2 separate regions of the Homo sapiens genome follow, and region 2 is linked to region 1. The links are contacts of gene promoters, found by promoter capture Hi-C in blood cells and fetal thymus (Javierre and others, 2016). All regions are on one chromosome and are shown on one strand. Each heading gives the region's core, a stretch centred on a gene start or on the middle of the fragment in contact. The rest is flanking DNA. Distances are from core to core; before and after follow the strand shown.

Region 1 (4,795 bases), core at 91-2,590:
GACAGGTTGCCAAGGATAGAGAAATACACTAACACCTGACTTTGATCATGACAGGCTGGTCTAGTCAGAAGCTTAAATGTGGATGTGTGACAGGTAACAAACTTGGGGCAATTTGCATCTAAATGTCCATACTTGTTTAAAATCTGCCTTTGGCTTGTTTCTGAAGAGTGAAGAAAGGGTACAAATTGACTGAAGGGATTAGAACATAATGTTACCATGCTCACCAGCGTCTCTTCTGCTCTAGGTACCTCAGATATTATTTTACAGTTGTTTTTGTGCGAGAAGGCCCCGTGGTGTACCCAGCAGTACTCAGTGGTTCATCCACAGATCATAAAAATCATCGGGAAGATTGTTAAATATACAGCTTCCTCAGCCGTAGCCCGAGATTTCAAGTCAGTAAACCCGGGACATTGCCCAGACACGAATATAGATTTTAAACACTTTCCAGGTGATTCTCATTTATGGCCAGGTTTCATAGTAGTGTAACACGCTTCTAACACGTAATCTGCCACGAACAAACTACGAGTGATTTAATCGAGTCTCAGTGTCCTCATCTCCACCAGTTACAAGCTGTGTGATTCTGGCTAAATTCACAACCTCTCCGAGCCTCAGAGTCCTCACCCATACTATGGGAACAGTAAGAGAGAAACTACGAGGACTATTCTGGGGACTGATGTAAAGCACCAGGCACGCGACGAGTCCTCACCGTGAAGCACCCTTACCTATATAAAACAGGGGGTGGGGTTGCGGCTTAACTGAATAATCGCTAGGGTTTCTTCCAGGTCAAATCTTTTCAACTCCCACGGAACAGAGGCCTAGTCCAGTGAATTAATCTGCCCAACGGTATGAAGGTTAGAAGGCAGGCGCGCGGGTGCATGGACAGGAGACAACCTCTGTCTCCCAGGGCATGGATCTCAGGGTCCTCACTGCCTGGCCAGTGCCCCCCTACGCTAGGGTGAGAGGGCCAGAGCCAGGTGATGGCGAAGCGGCGCCGCGCTCAGTGCTTCACTCGGTAGGGCTGCGGCAGCGGGGACCTGTGCCCGAGCCCCGCGCGGAGCCTGCCCCAGACGCGCGCTGCCCGCCGGGCGCAAAGAGGCCAGGCCGCACGCACTGTTGCCCAGCAACCGCTCCCAGGCGTCCGCAAGTCCCGGGCCCTCCATGCAGGTCCCAGACCGCAGCCGTCCCAGACCGCAGCCAAGACCTTCCCATGCTCTGGGGCCCAAAGCAGCGTCCTCTGCTCGGCTCTGAAGGCCAGTGCAGGACCAGCTCCCAGGGGGGATTCCGGGGTACCCCGCGGCACCGACCTGATTCGCCCAGCTTTGGACAGGAAATGGCGCAGTGACCTGCCTGGGCTGGGGCGGGGCCAGGAGCCAGGGGCCCGGGGCGGGACCAAGGGCGGGGCCAGGAGCCAGGGCCCGGGGCGGGACCAAGGACGGGGTCAAAAGCCAGGAGGCGGGACAGGGGGCGGGCATGGACACGCGATCAGATTCGCTACCGCAGAGCTCTAGCTCCGGAGCGCGCCAAGTTGAAGGCCAAAGTCGAGGTTGGGATGCCCGATGCCTGGCGCGGGGAGACGGAGGAAGCAAAGTGCTGGTAACTAAAGCAGCGCCTGCTGCTCGCCTTTTTTCTACTGAAGAAGGGTTGTCTCACTCCCGTTAGCTTAATATCCTTGCCCAAAATGTAAAGTCTCCAGTGTACTTGTGAATCCGGTTTTGTTCATTGATAAATGTGTGAGTTAGAAGACTCACACATTTATCCTTAGGAAAGTTATTTGAGTAACCTTTTTAATCCTCAGTTTTCTCACCTGTGAAATGGAGAAATGGCACTTTCTCATAAGGTTTATGGTTAAAGTGCTGTAACCGCCCAATAGGTTCACCTTGCTCACTGCCTAAACAGAGTCGATTTATCAAGACAGGGGAATTGCAATAGAGAAAGAGTAATTCACACAAAGCTGGCTGTGAGGGAGACCGGAGTTTTATTATTACTCAAATCAGTCTCCCTAGCTTTCAGGGATCAGAGTTTTTAAGGATAATTTGGTGGGTAGGGGTCAGTGAGTCGGGAGTGCTGATTGGTAGGCTAGGAGATGAACTCACAGGGAGTCAAAGCTGTCCTCTTGTGCTGAGTCAGTTGCCAGGTGGGGGTCATAAGACCAGATGAGCCAGTTTATTCATCTGGGTGGTGCCAGCTGATCCATCGAGTGCAGTGTCTGTGAAATATCTTAAGCACTGATCTTAGGTTTTACAATAGTTGATGTTATCCCCAGGAGCAATTTGAGGTTTAGAATCTTGCAGCCTCTAGCTGCATGACTCCTAAACCATAATTTCTAATTTTGTGGCTAATTTGTTAGTCCTGAAAAGGCAGTCTAGTTCCTGGGCAAGAAGGGGGTTTGTTTGGGAAAGGGCTGGTATTGTCTTTGTTTCAAAGCTACACTATAAACTAAGTTCCCCCCAAAGTTAGTTTGGCCTATGCCTAGGAATGAACAAAGACAGCTTGGAGATGAGAAGCAAGATGGAGTCGGTTAGGTCAGATCCCTTTCACCATCTCAGTTATAATTTTGCAATGGTGGTTTCAGTGCCTGGTACCTAGTCAGTAGGAACAGGTGGCACGTGACATCCGGGGAATCATAGGGTTTAGAACAGAATGAGCTAATAGGCACATTCATTCATGCCCCAAATACATGCACACAGCCCTAAAGAAATTTCAGTCTGTTTTTCTAAACAAAATCTCAGAGTATTATGTGCAGGGTTACCAATGGAAAAAAAGCAGGTTTAGGGGAAACTTGAGCTTAAGTTCACGGTCAGAAACACCCGGAACTTCTTGGCAAATGAGTGCTTTATGGAAACCTGTTTGGCAGGGAACAAGGAGCCCCTAGAGATGGAATTCGCCAGAGGGGAGAGGGATCCAGGCATGGCCAGCTAGCTCTAGTGTTGATTCCAAGTACAGCCTGTTGACTCTCTTGTGGCCTAGGCCCCATAGGATGCATGCCTGTGTCCTGTAGAGAACAGAAGAGCTGTTTGGCTGAAGTCTCTATGATGCATTGGTACACATACCATCCTGCTTGGGTACCCCTCTAATGCAGTATAACACAAAGGGGCCACGGATGTTCTGCTCCTCTTGGCAGCTGAATGGGTACAGCATCAGCAGAGTGAGTCTTTTGGCTCATCAACTGCAGCAGGAGACCTGGGGATCCCAGCAGGACATGGTCACAGTGGCTGTCCCAAGGGAATGAGGTGCCTCAGGAGAAGTAGCAGACAGTGTAGGTGCCTGGCAGGAGCAAGGACGTTGATGAGCACAGGCTAGGCACACCATAGGGATCCTCAGAAAGATATAGGGTACTTCACAGTGACCTTCCAGCCTGTGGGAATTGATGGAGACAAGAACCAGTGATGTTTTGGTTATCACCATTAGTATCACCCCATTTTCCTCTTAGGCCTGTGAGGCCTTGAATACATGAAGGCTATATGCCTATGGTCCCCAACCTCAGGGTGTTTCTTATCACATTGAGGCCAATAGTTCCAAATCACTTACTTCCTATCCTACTACTCTTTTCACTAAACTCCTTTCCTAGGTTCCAGAGGTATCTGCCCACAACTGACTGTACCACCTAACCATTCACTCACACATTTGTTCAGCTAGTGTGAGTGGCCTGTAGTGTGCTAGATGCAGCGGAAGGCCCCTGGGGTGCACTTGACAAATAGTCATCACATGCTAAGTGGTTAAGAGCTGGGGCTCTGGAGCCATTTTGCTGGGTTCAAATCTCACATCTCCACCTATTAGCATTCATTAAAATGTCTTGAAGCACCTACTATGCACCTTCTATTGTGCTATGTACTGGGGATCATATTCCTCCTTTTTTATTACTAACACTACTGAAACCTTCCTTACAAACTTTATAAAATTAATCAGGGAAGCAGGGAAGGGGAGAAATAAAATAAGCCCAGCTTGCAGCACATTCAGCATGAACCATGAGGTCAGCTTGTTCTCTGGCCTGCTTCTTCATAATTATTTAGTGTCTGTTATCTCAGAATCACGTAGACCCAGTTACAATATTATAGTTCCCCTTAACTGCTCTATAGTTAACAACTTGAACATAAAACATTGTGTTTTCCACTTGGAGTATTCTTTCAGGTCCTGCATACCAGTGAAATTACTAATGTCAGCTGTTCTGAAGGACCCATTGACACCAGCTGGTCTGAGGGCCCCACTATGACCCTGTCCTGCTGCCCCCCCAGGTCTCCTACTGTAGCTGACCAGAAGTTGACTCACCAAAGAATGCAGTTCCCAAATCCTGATACTTTCATCCCCCTTATCCCACCAATGGACAACCCCAGTTATCTAGCCCCTCACCTCCATGATCTCCTTAAAAACCCCAGCCCAGCACTCCACTGGGAGATAGATTTGAGGGACTCCTCCTCACTGCAGCTCTCCTCCCCCTCACTTGGTGCCCTGTGATCTGATTCTTTCTGTGCTGCACATCCTTGTATCTCAATGTAACTAGTCTCTTATACACAGTAGGCATACAGTCTGTTGGTTCTATGCATCTGCTACTGCTACTGCTAGATGTGTGACCTTAAGCAAGTTACTTAATCCCTGTGGGCCTTAGTTTCATCATCTGTAAAACTGGGTTGTTAAATGATTCTCTATCCCATAGGGTTTCTGTGAGAGGTACATGAGTTAATACAGGCCATGTGCTTAGAACAATGCCTGGAGCATTATCAATACCTAGTAAGTATTATTAACTATTACTACTACTATGATTCGTATGTGTTAGACCAGGTCCTCTAAACCTTGATTG
Region 2 (4,795 bases), core at 1,092-3,591, 750 kb before region 1:
TGCCCACAACTGCCCGGTGGACAGGAGGATCTAAAAAACGAAGAAGGATGGGTCATTAAGGTATGGAGAGAGACCATAGTTAAATATGGTCCCCTACAGCCAGGAGTGCTCATGCTGGGCTGGGTGTGTGAACTCCACGTGTGTCCCACAGGCTCCAAGGAGTCTGCAAGTCCTGTGACCAGGGGCAGCAAGGGATGCTGGACATGGCTCAGAGGCGCTGGAAGTGATATTGGCACCAGCACCTGTGGTGTGAGTTACAACCAGTACGAAGGGAAGACAGGGCTGGGAAACAAAGGCCTCTCCCAGAGCCTGTTCGGGATCAATAAGAGGGCTCCTAGACTCCAAACCTCGCTTACAGGAGTGTTAGAAAGACCGCGCAGGCCCAGGACCCTCCCCGTGTCTGTCTTACAGCGACCAATATTGCAGTGAATGCACTGAGAGCAAGGAACAGCAAGGTCTCTCCCTCACTCTTCGAACACTGCTTGCTTGCCTCCACCCCCAGAAGGAGCTCTATCAGTTCAGGAGCCACCAAGCTCACGCAGAAAGGATTCACAGGACGGCTGGTCAAGACATTTTTGCTGCCCGCCCCGGGGTGGGGACGGAGGCCGTCAAGGTTGGGATGAGCATTCAGCCGAGCCGAGCCACCGCGTGCTTTCCCGCAGACATCGGGGTTTCTGAGAACTAGGAGGGAACAGCCAAAAGAATGGAAGCTTGGCGCCCTGAAACAAGCCTTTTGGGTCCTGAGGGAAATCTGGGCGCCCACGGGCAGCCGTCTCCCCCACCCGCCGCTCGGCGCCCGCGATCCGGCTGGCGCTGGCTGCAGCGTCCAGCCAGGCGGCGCGGGGAAGAGCCGGCGATAACCCGCCCGAGCTCCGGGGATCGACCGCGCTCTCACACCCCCCCAGTTCCCAGCGACCCCCACCGAGACTTGGAGACGACTTCAGCAAACTTGGGGAAGCAACTTTTCCCGAGGAGCTAGACTCCTGAAAGAAGGAGAGCTGAGCTAGGGACGAGGGAAAGCGAAAGAGACGGGGAGGAACGGCGACAGTCCGGGCGGGCTGGACTCCGCGGCGAGAGCGGCAGGGGAGGCGGACCCGCCCCGCGGCGAAGGGGAAGCACAAAAGCCCCGCAGCGAGTTGTGGGAGGAAAGGCGAGAAGGGGTCTGCCCGCCCTCCCTCTCCGACCCAGGGCCGTGACCCCCTGGGAGCGACCGGCTGGGTCCCAGGCCTCTGGCCAGCGGCGCCAGCGGCCAGCGCGCCCGGCCCAAGCACGGTGCGAGCGTCTCGGGGAGGCGGCGAGCGAGTCGGTGCGGAGCGCTCCGTGCGTCCGGGTGGTTCCGCGGGCCGGCGGGACCGTGCGCATTTCAAGCGCGTGCGGGAGTGTGCGAGGCGCTGTGCGAGCTAGCGGCGGGCGCGCCAGGGTGGGAAAGGCATCCCGAACGCATCAGGTGCAGAGACCGGCACCCACCGAGAGCGGCCGGGAGCGCACGGCGAGCTCCGGTGTCACCGCCGGTCCCGCCGAGAGCCGAGGAGGGCCCGCAGCGCTGCAGACCCTCTGGAGCTTCCCTCCCTCCCCTGCAAAAGGGGGGTGGGGATCAAGTCCAATCAAGAAAAAGCCCACCACGTTTTCTCAAAGAGAAACAAAACGTAAGCAGTCCCAGTCCTGCTCCCCTCCGCCCCCAGATCTACTCGTCAGCTCCTCCGATTCTAGCTTCCCAGCCGGCCGGCGAATAAACACACAAATAAATAAACCACAACCTTATCTTGCGCCCGCGCACCGGTCCGCATACATAAGAGCACCCACGGGCTCTGTTGCTCCGCCAGCCCCTGGCGGTACAAAGCCTCCGGATCCCCGACCCCTCTGCTCACGCCCTCAGCCCCCGCACACCGCTACGCCCCCCACCTCTCACCCCGACCGTGCCCTGAAGAGGAAGGGCTGGGGAGGCAGCTGCGCCCAGGCTGACAGCCGGGGCTCCCCCTTCTAGCCGACCCCCAACCGGTGGCGGCGACGGCTGCAGCGGCAGGAAGGGAACACGCCAAATAAAAAAGGCACAAGCCCAGCGGCCGAGTGGCCGAAGCGAGCGCGCGCCCCCCAGACCTCTCCAGCCCCGGGAAGCCCCGGCGCGCGGCGCTCGCTGGGCGGTGCGCCTCTTCCCGGCCCCTCACTCACCGCAGCCGAGCCGGGCACTGTGGGGTGGGTGTGCGTGCCTGTCGGGGGGTGTGTGCCTGTGTCGGGGAGGGGTGTTGCTGGGGAACTGTTGCTCTCCGTATCACGGCGGCAGCGACAGCATCGCCCGGCAGTTCGCAGTACCCGCTCTCATCGCCCTCAACTCCTCTCTGCTGCGAGGTTAGCAAATCACCACCGGCTGCTGCGCCTCCGCCGCGTCCCACGTCAACGCCGAGCCCCCTCCCCTGCAAGGCCCCGGCGCCTCTCCATCTTTAGTGCTGGCGGCCGAGCCCGGCTCCCTGCCCACAGCTGCCCCCCTTCCCTCCCCCCTCCCGCGCCGTCCCCGGGCTCAGCCCGCCCACCACCCCGCACTGGCCGAGCCCGCGCGCGCTCCCCGCCCCACCCCTCCTTTCCCCTCCCCTCCCTTCCCCTCCCTTCCCCGCGCTCCGCGCTCCGGGCTTCGCCTGACATCTAGCTGCTGCTGGGGCGCCGGCGGCCGCCTCTCACCGGCCGAGCGGAGAGGAAGGAAGGAGCCAGAGGACAGGAGTGCATGGGGACTCAGAATCCTTAATAGGGGAACTGAGGGTGAAGGGCGCGCAGCAGCCCCCACCTACTCCCAAGATTTTAATTTGCACTGGATACGGGTTTTGTCCCCCCCTCCCCGCACCCCGGTGCTCAAGCACGCAGTTTTGTCTCCTCTTCCAATGTTTGCCCCAATTCAGTGCGTGTCATCTCGCCTTTAACTTTTTTCTCATGGCTCGGGGCTGCAGTCCCCCTGACATCTGTTTTAAAAGGCCGCTTTCCTAGCCCAAACCCGGCCCTCTCATCCTCCTGGTTACTGCGCGCCTCCCGGCTTGAGCATCCGGATTTCAATAAGTCTCCCGAGGCAGAGTTCGCGGGCGCTAGTGAACCAGGTGCCAGAAGGTCCGCGGGGATCTATTGTCGAAGCGAGACACCCGTTTTTAGCTGTCGCGATTGCTGGAGGCCAAGGTCGAGTCCTGGGAGAAACTTTTCTCTCTCCCAAACCTTGGACAGCCTCTCGGCTCTGCCCTCATCCTACCCCCCCGCCCCCCAGCAATCTGGGTGGAAACAGTTCCCGAGAACTGCGCCCAGCTCAGTGCACAGTCTTCAGGGGGCAGGGGGAAGCTTGGACAACCTCTGGGCCCCTCAAAAGTGTGTCCTCCTTCAGCTGGCCGCCCTACTTCAGAGGGTAGAGCAGCCAAAGAAAATGTACTCTTCCTCTGACTGCAGAAAGCTGCCCTCTCCCCTTTTCCCTGGAGCTGAGCGAAGGTAGGGTGCCAGAGGCGGGAAGCGCTCTTCGGGCACGGGCTGTGGATTCTGACCGAAGCCCAGGAGGTTGGGGTGGGAGGTGGGGGTGGCCGAGAGCGCCATCCAGGGTTCTCAGGCCAGTCAGCCCTCGAGGTCACGCGGTTTTAGCAATGCGGAGCTTATGTCACCAAGGCCTGAGTCTGCATGTTCTGTCCGTGACTCACGGGTGGGCCAGAGGTTTTCCGCAGGACTCACCTAGAATCACACCTCCATGCGTGCCTCTGGCACTGCCCCAGACCCAGTCCCATGAACTGTAGGGTCATGGAAGGTGGCAGAAATCTGTATCTGTTCGCTGAAGGCCAGGCGGTAGAGTTTACACATCGGAACTGATCCGGGTTCACAAGAGCCGCTCATGAGGCAGCCCCAAAGACGGGTCATTCCATCCCAGCAAGAGCCACTCCTGACTCTTAAGAGCAGGGAAAGCTCAGCCCAGCAGGAGTCTGCGGAGAGAGCTGGGCAGGGGAACACACTTGAGTGAAGGAAGGGCTCCTCTGATAGCACGGGATACAACCACATCAAACCCAGGGCAAGCGGAGGGGAAGCCCAGTCCCTGGGTATTCATTTCATTAACAATAAAGAGCAATCCCATTTAGAGACTACCTGTTTTTCTAACTAAGGTCTATACACCCTGTTAGAGGAAAGGGATTTAAAGAAAGTTAGGAAAGAACTGGGCTGCAAGGAGAGCAAGAGTGGAGGGATGTAAGGAGAGGAGAAAAGACCCTCCTGGTGCCTCACCAGGGAAACAGAAGAAAGAATCACTACACTTGTTGAGCTTCTGCCTAGATAGTGCCTGCTGGAGGTTTCCGCTTTGCTGTCCACATCCACCTACCAGCCTCTCCTCAGTGCAGTAGCAGGAGAAGCACACAATTAACCCCTGATCCTAATCTCCTATTAATCCTCAAATCAGAGAAAGAGAGAATCTCTGGAAACAATGGGAGAGAAAGCACAATCCTCTATGGCCCTGGCCTCCCCACCCCCGTGCCATATTCACTCTATGTGAAAATCTCCCTTGCTTCATAAACGCTGCCCATTAAAAGCCCAGCCCTTGTTAGTAAGTGTTAAAGAGAGATTAATGCCTGAATTTAAGAGGTGGAGAAGGTAACAAAAAGGAAGAAGGCAGGCGAGGCTGTGGGCTGAATGCCAGCATTGGGCTCCAAGCATTTCCACTTAGCGCTGAAGGCTGGCTGCACAGCAGTTTGATAAGGTTTATTGGGCCCAGATAAAGCAGCAGCAGCTCCCCCACCAAAACTGGCACCATTTATAGCCAGAGCTATGTCCTTGGGTCCTGGGAAGGCTGATG

The links. Contacts are between HindIII fragments. The CHiCAGO score rates a contact against its expected background, and 5 or more counts as called.
Region 2: the fragment with the promoter of ZBTB16 here is called in contact with the fragment with the promoter of TTC12 in region 1 in 2 of 17 cell types (total B cells and naive B cells); the score reaches 9.1 in total B cells.

What each region holds. Positions count from the first base shown.
Region 1 is chr11:113,311,128-113,315,922 of GRCh38, reverse strand. It overlaps TTC12 (tetratricopeptide repeat domain 12), which reads right to left and starts at 1,340. Exons shown (of 22, transcript NM_017868.4): 1 at 1,305-1,340. TTC12-DT (TTC12 divergent transcript) reads left to right here and starts at 1,467. Exons shown (of 5, transcript NR_199709.1): 1 at 1,467-1,593. RefSeq lists silencers at 970-1,069, 962-1,256, 1,280-1,529. The HindIII fragment of the contact is 13,389 bases long and covers 74-4,795 here.
Region 2 is chr11:114,057,257-114,062,051 of GRCh38, reverse strand. ZBTB16 (zinc finger and BTB domain containing 16) reads right to left here and starts at 2,341. Exons shown (of 7, transcript NM_006006.6): 1 at 2,170-2,341. RefSeq lists a silencer at 2,491-2,785. The HindIII fragment of the contact is 2,602 bases long and covers 713-3,314 here.